Regions from separate parts of the Homo sapiens genome. Here all the other regions are linked to region 2. Evidence: promoter capture Hi-C in 16 types of primary human blood cells and fetal thymus (Javierre and others, 2016). All regions are on one chromosome and are shown on one strand. The core of a region is centred on a gene start or on the middle of the fragment in contact, and the rest is flanking DNA. Distances in the headings are between cores, read along the strand shown. Region 1 has its middle 27 kb from the start of MIR5680. Region 2 holds the start of GRHL2 (grainyhead like transcription factor 2). Region 3 has its middle 49 kb from the start of MIR5680.

Region 1 (4,438 bases), core at 1,939-4,438, 660 kb before region 2:
AGACCTTGTGCCAAACAGGGCCCTGGGGATCTTCTGTGATGTAACATATTCGTTACTTGATAAGTTGAATTTTTCAAGGAATTTGTTCATTTTATCTAAGTTATTGAATTTATTGGCACAAAGTTGTTCATATTGCTCCTATACTATACTTTTGATGCCATGGTTTCTGTAGTGACATCCTCTTTGAATACTGATATTGGCAGTTTGCCTTTTCTCTATTTTTCTCTTGAGGTTTGCTAGGGGTTTATGAATTCTGCCACAAGGAGTCAATTTTTGATCTTATTAATTTTCTGTATTTCTGTTTTTTATTTCATTGATTTCTGTTGTATCTTTATTATGTTCATCTTTCCACTTATTTTAGGTTTAATTTGCTTATCTTTTTCTAACTTCTCTAGGTGTTTAGTTATTTCATTAATTTTAAACCTTTCTTCTTCTCTCATATAAACAGTTAAGGTTATTACTTTTCCTTTATTATAACTTTAGTTACAGCCCATAGATTTTTATATATTATACTTTTATATACTTTATTCTGTTCAAAATATTTTCTAATTATCCTGGTAATTTTTTATTTGATCTATGAGTTATTTATAAGTGTATTGTTTAAGTTTGAAGTATTCAGGGCTTTTCTAGCAATTAGTGACGTCTTTTCATTCTGGCTTCCCTAGCTCTGAACCCTATAACATGTGATCTTTGCAGGGCCCTGGGTAATCTTGTCTTGCAGTCCAACTATGGTAGCCTGACTTCTAAGGTGGCTCTCAATGGTCCTTCCACCTCCTGATCTACATGCCCTTACAGAAAGAATCCTTTCCCTTTGAGTATGGGCTGGACCTAACGACTTGTTTCTAATCAACAGAATACAACAAAGGTAATAGCATATTGCTTCTGTAATTAGGTTATAACATATCATCGCTTCTGTTTTGCTAGCAGACTTGTTGGCTTTGATGAGCAAGCTGCCATGTTGAAGAAGCCTATATGGCAAGGAACTGAGGGTAGCCTCAAGCCAACAGCTAACAAGGAACAAGCACTTAGTCCAACAGCCCTCAAGGAACTGAATCTTTCCAACAATAAGAAAGTGAATTTGGAAGAGAATCCTCCCCAGTTGAGCTTTCAGGTGAGACCCTAGCCCTGGAAGATTTCAGCCTTGTAGAAGTTCCTGAAGAAGAGGACTCAGGTAAGCCATGAATGGATTCCTGACCCACAAAAGCCAGGAGATAATAAATGAGTGTTATTTTAAGCTGCTACATTTTGGGTAATTTGTTGAGCAGCACTAGATAACTAAGGAGATGCAGTGAATCCTATGCGTACTTCTGGGGCCCTTCCCATGTGCAGCTGCCTCTTCTTAGGCATCCTGCCCTGGAAATCTTAATAGCTTTAGTAGCCCAGAGCTCTGATCTCTATGCATGTCTGGTTATTTTAAGGGCAAAAGTTGAGTTACAAACATCTTAATATCCTGCACAGAACCTATGTTAATACTAAGTAAATTTCTAATGAGTGTTCCTTTAGTGTTTGTTGTCTGACATATTTTCCAACTTGAACTGCCCCAATGCAGCCTTGGTCAGGGACACATCTTAAAGGGAGAATACGAAAACCTTTGCAGGTCCCCTAAGTTGGAGCCCCAGGGCTTCATGTACCTTCCCTCCACCAGCTCACATGCGACAAGTCACTCCTTCTCTTTCTAGACCTGAGTGGAATGGTGTCTTGCAGGATGTGGAATCTGGATTTTCCAGTGGCCACCAGGTGGCTGGATGACATGGCCTGGCAATGTAGGGGAGTTAGCTGCCTATGGGGTAAACCTTAACCAATAGGAAATGGGAGCCATGCAGAAACTGGGCAGATAGATTCTATTTCCTTTCTCCCTTCTATAGATTTCTCTGCAGTACAGTTCTTCTTTGAAGCCCTTTCAGAAAAGTCCCATAGTTCCAGGAAATTAACCTGCTCAATGACCTGCTACATCTCTTTGTGACTCATTGTAAAGGATTAGCCAGCACAGTAATCCAGCCTTGCTTTACATCTTTCTTTGTCTCACTCCCACTTTTCTTCTCCTTCACTTCCTCCTAGGCCTGCACCTCTCAATGAAAGCATCTATACCTTCACCCTTGCCTCAGGCTCATCTTTCCAGAGGACCTAGGCTTAGAGAGATGGCACTCATAGTTTATCTTTGCTTTCCAAGTTCATCTCAATAAACAATTTCTGCAGAGTATACTTTAGCAGAATAAATAGAACTGTACTCACCTTTGATAATTCACATAGTCAGTGTCACATATTATCATGTGTCATATTCTGCCACATTTTGGATGTCTTCTCAAAGACATCTAAGTTTCTCAAACTCTATGCTAATGGTAATGGATGTTAAAACTGACTGATTTAGGAAACAGTCAATTTGAAGGAAACAATTGAACACATAGTTTGCAGGTGGCTCCTAGATTTCATAATGGTTGGACAGAGGGAGTTAAAATACTTTTAAAAGTGGGCAATTTTCTAACTTTCCACGTGTAACTCAATTATGAATTTTACTTTTGCTTTTGCCTGCATCCCATGTCACCATCCTGCCAGGCTTCTTGCAATTTCTGCCATTGCTCTTCAGGCCCTTGAAAATATAAGGAGATTTGTTGAAAGGGCAACTCGTAAAGAATGGCAGAGACCAGTGTTAGTTGGTTTAACTCCCTTCTCTAACCAGTTCTGATTTTCAAAAGCACACTGAGTAGAAGTAAAAACTCAGAAATGTAGGGTTGCATGTACATGCCTGATCCTTTCTTTCCACTATACTGCATGCAGTCAGATGAAAGCATTCCTCCCTAAGCCTCTATCTTCATGTAAATTAGGCACAACTTATTTTCCCTTTAGCCTCAAAGCTTGATAAGTATAGTCAGACCAAAAATGCCATTAATAAAAACAGACCCTAAACATTAAGAGAAAGTGAGTTACTTCTAATGCTCTTCGTTATTTTGGAGGAGCAAATTACAGGTTCTTTCATTAGCATACTTAGAGTTTGAGAGAGGCTATCTGGGAGGGTAACGGTAACACAGTTTCTTCTCCACTCTGATTTCCTTGCATTTACTGTGTCTCCATCATGGTTTAATGGGGCTCATCGAGTCTGGAGGTTTGGCAATCATGTGATTCTATGGTGGTTGTTAAAATTGCTCTGATCCTCATAAGCATTAGACATGGGACATCAAATAGAGGCCTCTAATTTAGCTCGTAAGATAGGGTTGAGGAAAATTAAAGGAGCATCTTTCCAGAGTTTGACACCATTGAGCTAATTCTTCAAAGCTAAATGGGAGCTGGCCATGTGAATACATGAGATGAAGGAGTCCTAGAAATTAAAAAAGATGTTTTAAAATGATTTTTGCCTTTAGTGAGTAGACCATGGTGTATAATCATTCTTTGGATATTGAGCTTTTATTTTGCCTCAGAGGCACTTTCCTTGGATGATAATAGGATGTACACATAGTGGGAATAAAATATAAGACAATCTGTACTACCCAGAGCTAAATAAATATATAAGCAAGTAAAATAAAGCTTTTCTTATATTACTGTTTTCTAAATAATTTCCTACTCAACTAGCCTCCTCTCAACCTAAAAGCATGTTCAAGTCATTTCTATCCAGAGAGAGAAACCCTTATCTATCAGGTAGGGCTCTTTCAGGTCAAAGTTGAAGCTGAGACAGAAAACTCGACTCTAACTACTTGACTAAAAAAATAACTTACGAATATTGTTGAAGGTGTAGGGTTAATCTAGCTCCAAGGAAAGCTGGATAGAGTGGCTTGGATAATGTCACTAGAATCTGGTTTCTCTCCATCTCATAGATCTGACTTCCACTGTGTTGGTTTCATTCTTTGTTAGGCTTTCTTCTTATGGGGCAAGACAACCACAGAACTCAGAACTGCTTTTCAGTTCAAATGTTCCTCCTTGCAGAAAAAGAGTACCTGCTTTCCTGATAGTCCAAATGAAAATTCTAGAATTGAATCTAGATCTCTTAGATTTCAAAGAACTTGGGTCATTTCCCCATCCATGCCAATTCTTGGGTTATTTGCCAAAAAACGATTGCAAGGCAAATGCTGGTGATACCCAGCATGTCCACTTTTGGGTCATATGAAGTGCATGGGATATAAATAGAGAAGGTGCAGCATCCCCATAGCAATTCTTTTAGAATTGTTATCAGAAGCAGGGAGGTAGGTGCTGAGCAGCCAAAACAATCTATGTTGTCTGCCATATTGCTTATGTTCCTTTCTCATCATGCTAGTGCCCTGTTTATCTTACTCGTTGTATGACTTAGCAGGTTTCTTAATGCTTCTGTGCCTCAGTTTCTCCATCTATGAAATGGAGACAATAGTACTTCACAGGGTTGCTATGAGGATACAATAAAGTAATGTACATGGAGAACCAATTGTGTCCCAAACTGCTCTCCTTGATGCGTCCTTTTGCCTCCATCCACCAT
Region 2 (4,207 bases), core at 1,456-3,955:
GGGCCCGTTTACTTACAGTCCCCACCCCATGTCACACACATAGTTGCATAAGCTTCAGACCCACCCCTGCCGGGGCTCCCTTAGAATATTAAGAAAACGAGGCTAGAATTCGCAAAAATGATCCAGAAGTCATGTATTGACTTAAAGCATTTTCAACAGCCCAATGAGAGAGAAACAAACCAGTTGAATTATCTCCTTGCACCATTGTAACGATTACTTTTCCCAGGATACAAAATTTCGTCTTGGAAACCACGACTAGATAAAAGCAACGTTCATTAAATGCAAGCATATGTAATCCCAGATACTTATCACCTGTAAAAACCAGGTGATGCGTGTGGTGAAACCAGATTGCGGGCGCTCAGTACTTATTTCTGATGGTAAACACATTGTTCTTATTGCTGCTAAGTATAACTGGTGAAAATAAAGACCGACCCGTTTTCATTCAGAATTCGAGTTCTGTTGTATCACAAAACTAAGCAAACTAAATGTTAATTGCGCGATTAATTAAATTAGATTTGCAATCATCTTTGACGCAGGCAAAGATCAAAACAAACCCCAAAAACTTGCTGTCGCCTCCGGATTTGGCTACTGAAAATTTCAAACTCGAGTCGTGTTTCCTTGAAGACTAGAGAGATATGGGGAGGAGCTGGGGGTGTTCTCAGACAACCACACACTCTCCTCTTCCTACCCTGCCTCTGACCCGCTCCCGTGTTGGTAACGCTAGTTCTTCCCCTCCGGTATGCTGTACTCGGTTAATTCCTCATCGGTGGCTAACGGGGTACAACTATCTGGCAGTTTTTTGCTTTTTAAGTATGACAGCGCATTTTCTTAGGTTCGCCTAACCTGCCAGCGGCTTTATGTTGAGGCTAGTCCTTCCCCTCCACCCCTGAACAGGTCCGCAGGGCCTTCCCACTCCTCCCTCGTGGTCCCTCAACTTGGGACGGGTCCCCGCCACTTCTCCATGACAGGCCCAGCGGCCCGCGGCCTTGGGGCACCGGCCCTCTCCGGCGAGACACCTTCAGGAAGGTCCCCTCGGGGTGGCCGCAACGCCACGGCAAAGTTACCGGGGAAAGCAAAAGGGCGGCCCCGCGCACTTCCAATAGGACGCAGCCAGTTCCCAGGCCCGGACGCGCCCGAGAGGAGGGGGAAGGGAGTGTCCCCGCCGAATCCCGAGAAAGGCCGCGGGACCCACCTCCGGCTCCCTCCCGCGCCCGCCCAGGCCCCACCTCCCCCGGCTCGCACAAAGCCTTCCGAGGGCGGGGGCCGGCCAGGGGGGAGGCCGTCAGGACGCGGCCGGACCGGGCCCAGTGACCCGCGGGCGGCTCCGGCCGCGCAGGCTGTGGCTCCCCGACGCGTCTGGAGTGCCTGTCCGGGACGGGAAGGACGCGAGCCCAGCGTTCCCGCCGCCCCGAGCCCTCGGCCTTGACGGCGAGAGCACCCCGAGAAGGCTCGGCGCGCCCCACGCAGTCCCGCCTGCCGCGTCCGAGGTGGCGGCCAACTGCGTGGAGGGCCGCGAGCTCGAGGGGCGTGCAGACGCCGTCGGGGGCGCGGGTGAATCGCTCAGTGGCAGGCGCCCCTTCGCGCCCCGCCGAGGCCCTAACTCGAGGCCTCACATGAGTTCCCCCAGTTCGCGAACCGTCCTTTCCCCCCGGGCACCTGAGGAAGGTGGCCAAACAATGCGGGGGCGGACCCGGGGGAGGGAGGCGGGGGAGGGGGGAGGAAGGCGGGATGTCGAGGGAGTGGGGGACGGCGCCGGCCGCCCCCGCGCCCCCCGGCCTCCCAGCGCCTCGCCTCCCATCGGGGCCACACGCGGGCGCGCACTCACGCCCACCCTCCTGCCCGGTGCGAGAAGATGGCCGTTTCTGCCTCATATAAAAGCTCTTTGTTGCGGTCACACAAAAGCGGCCAAGCCCCACTTTTCCAGTAGGCCCTTTGGACAAATCGAAGGAACTCAGCTGAACTTCCAAATGGCCCTAAACGCCAGATCGGTGGGAGCAGCTAAAACAGAGAGGGAAGAGCAGGCCTCCCGCGCCCATCTACCAAAACCTCTGGCAATATCCAAGTATTCATCCAGGAGCGGGAGCTGAGACCATTCCTAAGGGAAGAAGGAAAAGGAAAACCCACTTTTACTATCAAGGCCCAAAGGGGATATTAAATATTCACATTGTTGTAGGGTTTCTCCCCTTAATCAGGGTAGAAACATAATGCGGAAAAGTCTGGATCCACCAAAAAGAAAAAGAAAAAAGAAAGAAAAATACCAACAATAGCAACTTAAAAACAAAAACATAACAAACCAGTTGCCATCAGCCCAAAGTGGTAGTAGTAGCAGCAGCCGGCGCGTGTGATCCACTTACTTGTCCGACTCTTGTGACATGTTTGATCCAATGAACTTGCTCCGCTTTTCCTGGAGCCTCAGCCTCTGGTGAAACTGGACTTTCAAGTCTGTGCAGGTGAAGGTGTGTGAGAGCGCCCGAGATGGCAGAACAAGAGCTACAGGTAATTCTGCTTTTCCGTCCCCCCTCACCACTCTCGCTCGCTCGCCCGCTCGCGCCCTCACCTAGCCGGAAAGGTGGGATAAGGGGGGGCCCCTCACATGGGGCCCGAGCTCGGAGGCGGCCGGGCGGCGCGGAGTCCTCCTGGATCGTGGCAATGGGCAGACACAGAGCAGAAAGTGGCGGACTTGGGCGGCCACAGGTAACTTTCTCGCAAGGAGCTGAATTCTTTCACTAAAGGGTACAAGCCCGAGGGACGAGCTGCGCGATGATTGGCTGGGGAGCTCCCTCAGGTGAGCTGCCATTGGCAGAGGCGCGCTCAGGTAAGGCCCTTCTCCGAGTGCAGGTAACTCACTCCGAAGTTTACCCGAGTGGAGCGGCGGCATGCTTGCAGCTCGGCGGCAGCCTGTGAGAGCTGAGGGTCAGTTCTTCGAGTAGATCTCAAGCTGCGTTTTCCTCCTTCTCCAAAGCAGGGATGGGAAGGTGGAGGCTACTGGTTGAAGAGAAGAAAGGGGTTGGGGGAATGCAACACCTGCAAACACTAGGGATTGTGGGTCGAGCGGAAGAGCTAATGAGAGCCGAGCTCAGGTATCCCAAGTCAACCAGAATCAAATGCGCAGTACGCCACAAGGCATTTAATGCCCACAGTAACAGGGCTGTTTGACAGTGGCAGAAGAGGACGGGACTAAAGTTACTTTGTGCTGAGAGGGGGAAAGAAGCACAAAGTTTGGTCTGTTGCGTAATTGAATTTTTAACACTCTTATCCACAACAAACACTTTTTCGTGTCCTGCTGTGTAAAAGACATCAGATATATTACAGATTTTCAAACAGGTGAGCATCCTTTTACGAGCTGGGCAGGTGGGGAGTGGCGTGGTTTTGATGGAGTGAGGAGATTTGGTTGAATGAACGCTAAGATGGCCAGACGCACCTCTTCGATCTCAACTCTGCAGCCTGGGATTCCAGAGCTGCAAACAACCACTGAATTCGTTCTGTAAACCTGTTGTCATTTGACGTTTCCAGGCAGGCATCAACATTTACATTGTAATTCAATAGACGCTACTACTACAAAGGAGCTTTATTCTTCCAGCTTAATATGGTTGCTGCGGGAACACTGCAGGATGAAACTGACTTTTTTTGTGGTAATGTTTCTCCTGGTTGGGAACAACGCAAATTAGCAAAGGCGTAATTTATAACCGCTGCTACCAAAGAGTGAAGTATTTGTGGAAGTTCTGACTGGAATCTAGCTCGTACATATGGATTGTGGAAATAAAGGAGGACGTGGAAAGCTTGCCATATTTTATTTCAAGTTAATACTAAAGCTGCCAGACTTAATACAACTTTCTTTTAATCTTTATGGATCACATATTTTCTGAAAATTACATGATAAAACAAGGTTTGGTTTGTTCCATGTGTCCATTTTCAACAATAAATTTCAAAATTGTATTTTTAAAAAACAATATAAACACACACTTTAAAGAAATAATATATTTTAAGACAATGCAGGTACTATTTTAATATAATATTTTAAGATAATGCAATACCTATCATGTTCCTCTCCTTTTTAGAGGCAGCCATATTCTGCTTTTATCTGTCTCTTCTGTCATTTACCTCCCTATTTCTAAATAATTTGTACTGCCATCTCTTGATTTGCCAATAGATGTTGTGCTCTGACTACCTGTTGCTTCAGATTAGGATTTAGCTCTTTCATGCCAAG
Region 3 (4,392 bases), core at 355-2,854, 680 kb before region 2:
TGATGAAAGTAATCATGATGTTTTAAAAATCAGAAATCTAGGATATGTAGTGACATTAAAAATGTATTTGTGAAAACAAACATTACCTCTATCAGCCTGTGGAATGTTTTATGATTGAGCTTCCTTTGTAGCTCCCTAGTTCCTTCTATAGATTGGCTCATGATGATGAAGATGAAGATGAAGTTGCTGATGACTGATTGATTGATGACAGCTATGCTTTATTAAGGACTTACCATGTGCCACGAATATTATCTCATTTAATCTCCACCACAGCCATAATAATAAGGGCTGTTATTCTCATTTTACAGGTGAGAAAATCAATGCTCAGAGAGATTAATTTGTTCAAGGTCACATGGTTGGTGAGTGGCAGAAATAGGATTCAGACTCAGTATGCTCGACTTGGAAGACCACTTACTTTGCTAGACTAAGTCATGCCAGCTCCACAAGCTTGGATTAGTGTTTGAGGGCTGAATCTTATGTCTTCATTCTGGTGGATACAGCCAAGACAGGATCACTGGCAAAGATCTTTTAATTCTTCTCTGCCTTGCCAAGATCACCTTTTAGGCATTTCTCTGATATCTGATGATACAGAAGTATCTTTATTAGGCTGTCAAAGCTCTGTAATTTCACTAAAATGCTTATTTATTAAAGATAAAGATTATTTATTGAAGATACTTGTTTTTATCCCAAGTATATTTGTATTATTAGAAACTGCAAGTGGCATTCCATGACTCAAATATTCCTTTTACTTGAAAAGATGATAAATCTAGCTGTTTATCCTAGAACTTCACACCTTTCAACAATGAGAAATATGGTCACTTTTGCATGGAGTTAATGGGTTGTGCAGAATGTACTTACCCCAAGAACGTGGTGATTCTCTCTGAAGCAAAGGCGTGCCATGGGAACTGTCCATGGTGGTTCCTGGCAGAACTAACAAGTTGTATTAGGAACTTCCAGTGCTGGACAAGGTATTTAATTTCTAGGTAGGTCTCCCCTTCCCCTCAATTCTCAATTTCAATCTCTCTCTCTCTCTGGACAAGGTATTGAATTTCTAGGTAGGTCTGCCCTCCTCCTCAATTCTCAATCTCTCTCTCTCTCTCTCTCTCTCTCTCTCTCTCACACACACACACACACACACACACACACACACACACTCTTCTTCCATCCTTTCAGTCATGTATTTGTGAATAAGAGCTATTAGGAAAAAGTATAGGTATCTAGCTCACTTATACCCTTATAATTTAGATTTTGAGATTCTAATTTTCTGATGACTGTAAATTGCTATATGTTTATCCATGATAAAACAATGAAAGAATACCCTTTTATAAGAAAGATCACAGAATATCTACCACACATAAAAATATTTGATGTCTTTAGATTGAATGCCTTGTATTGTTAATCTTTAAATCCAGCCACATAGGCAAAAAGTACTGTAGTTACAGGCCTACTTTAGTTGAATTTCTGAGTATAAGGACCACTTTTTAAGGAGTAAAATAACAACCCACTGTGGTCAACTATATTATGGTTCACCCATGATTTTGGTGCTTCTCTCTACGGTGTCTCTATCTATGGGAAGATTATGCATTCCTACCCTGTTGAACCCAGAAGTGGCCATGTGACTTGCTTTGACCAATCAAGTATGGGAAACATTCCAGATGTGTTTATTCTAAACAAAACAAAACAAATGTGGGCCACTTCTGAGCAGAAGGTGTTAACAGCCAGCATATATGGTTCACAATGCCATAATGACTGGTAACGTTTCTGATTGAGGTGGCTCCATTAGCCTGAGTCCCAAAGTGAAAATTAATCAAATCAGAGCAGCAGCTAACTCTCAGTGGATGATACGGTTTGAATATATGTCCCTGCCAAACCCCATGTTGAACTTAAATCCCCAATGTTGGTGGTGGGGCTTGGTGGGAGATGTTTGGATCATGGGGGCGCTCATGGCTTGGTGCCTTGTGATAGTGAGTGAGTTCTTAGGAGATCTTGATTTTTAGAAATGTGTGGGACTGCCATCACCCCTTGTTCCTGCTCTGCCATGTGAGACAGTATCTGCTCTTGTTTTGCCTTCCACCATGAGTAAAAGCTCCCTGAGGCCTCCCCAGAAGCCAAGCAGATGGTGGGACCATGCTTGTACAGCCTGTAGAACCATGAGCCAATTAAACTTCTTTTCTTTATAAATTACCCAGTCTTGAGTACTTCTTTACAGCAATGTGAGAACAGCCTAACACAGAAATTAGTACTGAGGAGTAGGGCATTGCTATAAAGATAAGGAAGCACCCTTGGAACTGGGCAATGGGCAGAAGTTGGAAGAGTTGGGAGGGCTCAGAAGAAGAGAGAAATATGAGGGAAAGTTTGGAACTTCTTAGATACTGGTTAAATGGTTGTAACCAAAATGTTGATAGTAATATGAATAGTGAAGGCCAGACTGAAGAGGTCTCAGATGGAAATGAGAAACATATTGGGAACTGTAGCAAAGGTCACCTTTATTATGCCTTAGCAAGGAACTTGGATGTGTTGTGTCCATGCCCTAGGAAGTCTGCGGAGGTCTGAACTAAATAGTAATGATTTAGGGAATCTGGTGGAAGAAATTGCTAAGCAGCAATGTGTTCAAGAGGTGACCTGCTGCTTTTAATAACCCACACTCAGAGGCAGGATCAAATAAATGACTTAAAGTTGGAATTTATATTTAAAAGGAAAGTAGAGATAAAAGTTTGGAGAATTTGCAGCCTGGCCACGTGCCAGACAGAGAAAAAGCTTTTTGGATAGAGGAATTCAAGCAGGCTGTAGAGCAACCACTTACGAGATATATTTGCATGACTGAAAAAGAGCCAGGTGCTGATAGCCAAGACAACAGGAAAAAAATCCTCAAAGGCATTTCAGAGACCTTCCAGGTAGCCCCTCCCATCACAGGTACAGAGGCCTAGGAGGGAAGAATGGTTTCATGGGCCAGCCCCAGGGCCCCGCTGCCCTGGGCAGCTGTGGGACACTGCTTCCTGCATCCTGGCTGCTCTGGCTCCAGCCATGGCTCAAAGGGCCCCAGGTACAACATGGGCTGCTACCCTAGAGGGCACAAGCTGTAAGCCTTGGTGGCTTCCATATGGTGTGAAGCCTGTAGGCACACAGAGTGCAAGAATGAAGGAGGCTTGGCATCCTCTGTCTGTATTTCAGAGGATGTATGAGAAAGCCTAGGTGCCTGGTACAGAGGCAGAGCCCTCACAGAGAACCTCTGCTAGGGCAGTGTGGAGGGGAAATGTGGGGTTGTAGGGTCCACACGAAGTGCCCACTGGGGCACTGCCTAGTGGAGCTATGGGAAGGGGCCCGCTGTCCTCCAGATCCCAGAAAGTAGATCCACCTGCAGCTTGCACTCTGCACCTGGAAAAGCTGCAGGCACTCAACAACCTTTGAGAGAAGCCATGGGGGAATGTACCCTACAAAGCTGAAGGGGCAGAGCTGCCCAAAGATTCCTTGAAGCAGTGTGTCCTGGATCTGGGACATAGAGTCAAAAGAAATTACTTTGGAGCTTTAGGATTTAATGACTGCCCTACTGAATTTTGAACTTGCATGGGGCCTGTAGCCTCTTTGTTTCGGCTGATTTCTCTCTTTTGGAACAGGAATGCTTACCCAATGCCTGTACTCCCATTGTATCTTGGAAGTAACTAACTTATTTTGATTTTACATGCTCATAGGTGAAAGGGGCTCATTTCCAGATGAGACTGTGAACTTGGGTCTTTTGATTGAGTTGATGCTGAAATGAATTAAGACTCTAGGGGACTGTTGGTAAGGCATGATTATATTTTGCAATGTGAGGAGCACAGGAGATTTGGAGGGTCAGGGGAGGAATGATATGGTTTGAATATATGTCCTCACCAAATCTCATGTTGAACTGTAATCCTTAGTGTTGGAGGTGGGGCCTGGTGGGAGGTGTTTGGGTAATGGAGGTGGATCCCTCATGGCTTTATGCTGTCCTTGTAATGATGCTTGAGTTCTCAGGAGATCTAGTTTTGTAGAAATATGTGACACCTCCCTGCCTGACTGTCTCTTGCTCTTGCTCTGCCATAAGATGCCCACTCCCGCTTCTGCTTCTACCATGAGTAAAATCTCCCTGAGGCCTCCCCAGAAGCTTAGCAGATGCCAGTGCCATGTTTGTACAGCCTGCAGAGCCATGAGCCAATTAAGCCTCTTTTCTTTATAAAGTACCCAGTCTCTGGTATTTCTTTAGAGCAATGAAAGAACGGCCGAACACACTGGATAAGTAGAATGAGGGAGAAACAAACCCTGTTATTATAAGCCACCGGGTAGGTAGAGTCATGTTTTGCTGCAACCTGGCTTATCCTGACTGATGCACTCATCCACTCCTGTTAGCCATCACAAATCCCCCAGGGAAAAAGT

The links. Contacts are between HindIII fragments. The CHiCAGO score rates a contact against its expected background, and 5 or more counts as called.
Region 1: a contact is called between a fragment that was not itself captured here and the fragment with the promoter of GRHL2 in region 2, in 1 of 17 cell types (M1 macrophages). The highest score is 5.9, in M1 macrophages.
Region 3: a contact is called between a fragment that was not itself captured here and the fragment with the promoter of GRHL2 in region 2, in 1 of 17 cell types (total CD8 T cells). The highest score is 5.4, in total CD8 T cells.

What each region holds. Positions count from the first base shown.
Region 1 is chr8:102,149,915-102,154,352 of GRCh38, reverse strand. No RefSeq gene overlaps it. Among named protein-coding and RNA genes, the nearest start is that of MIR5680, 27 kb to the right of the region's middle. The HindIII fragment of the contact is 667 bases long and covers 2,855-3,521 here.
Region 2 is chr8:101,490,937-101,495,143 of GRCh38, reverse strand. It overlaps GRHL2 (grainyhead like transcription factor 2), which reads right to left and starts at 2,705. Exons shown (of 16, transcript NM_024915.4): 1 at 2,355-2,705. The coding sequence starts at 2,374. It overlaps GRHL2-DT (GRHL2 divergent transcript), which reads left to right and starts at 2,439. Exons shown (of 2, transcript NR_186782.1): 1 at 2,439-2,694. RefSeq lists an enhancer at 2,159-2,687. The HindIII fragment of the contact is 3,727 bases long and covers 55-3,781 here.
Region 3 is chr8:102,172,410-102,176,801 of GRCh38, reverse strand. No RefSeq gene overlaps it. Among named protein-coding and RNA genes, the nearest start is that of MIR5680, 49 kb to the right of the region's middle. The HindIII fragment of the contact is 2,310 bases long and covers 450-2,759 here.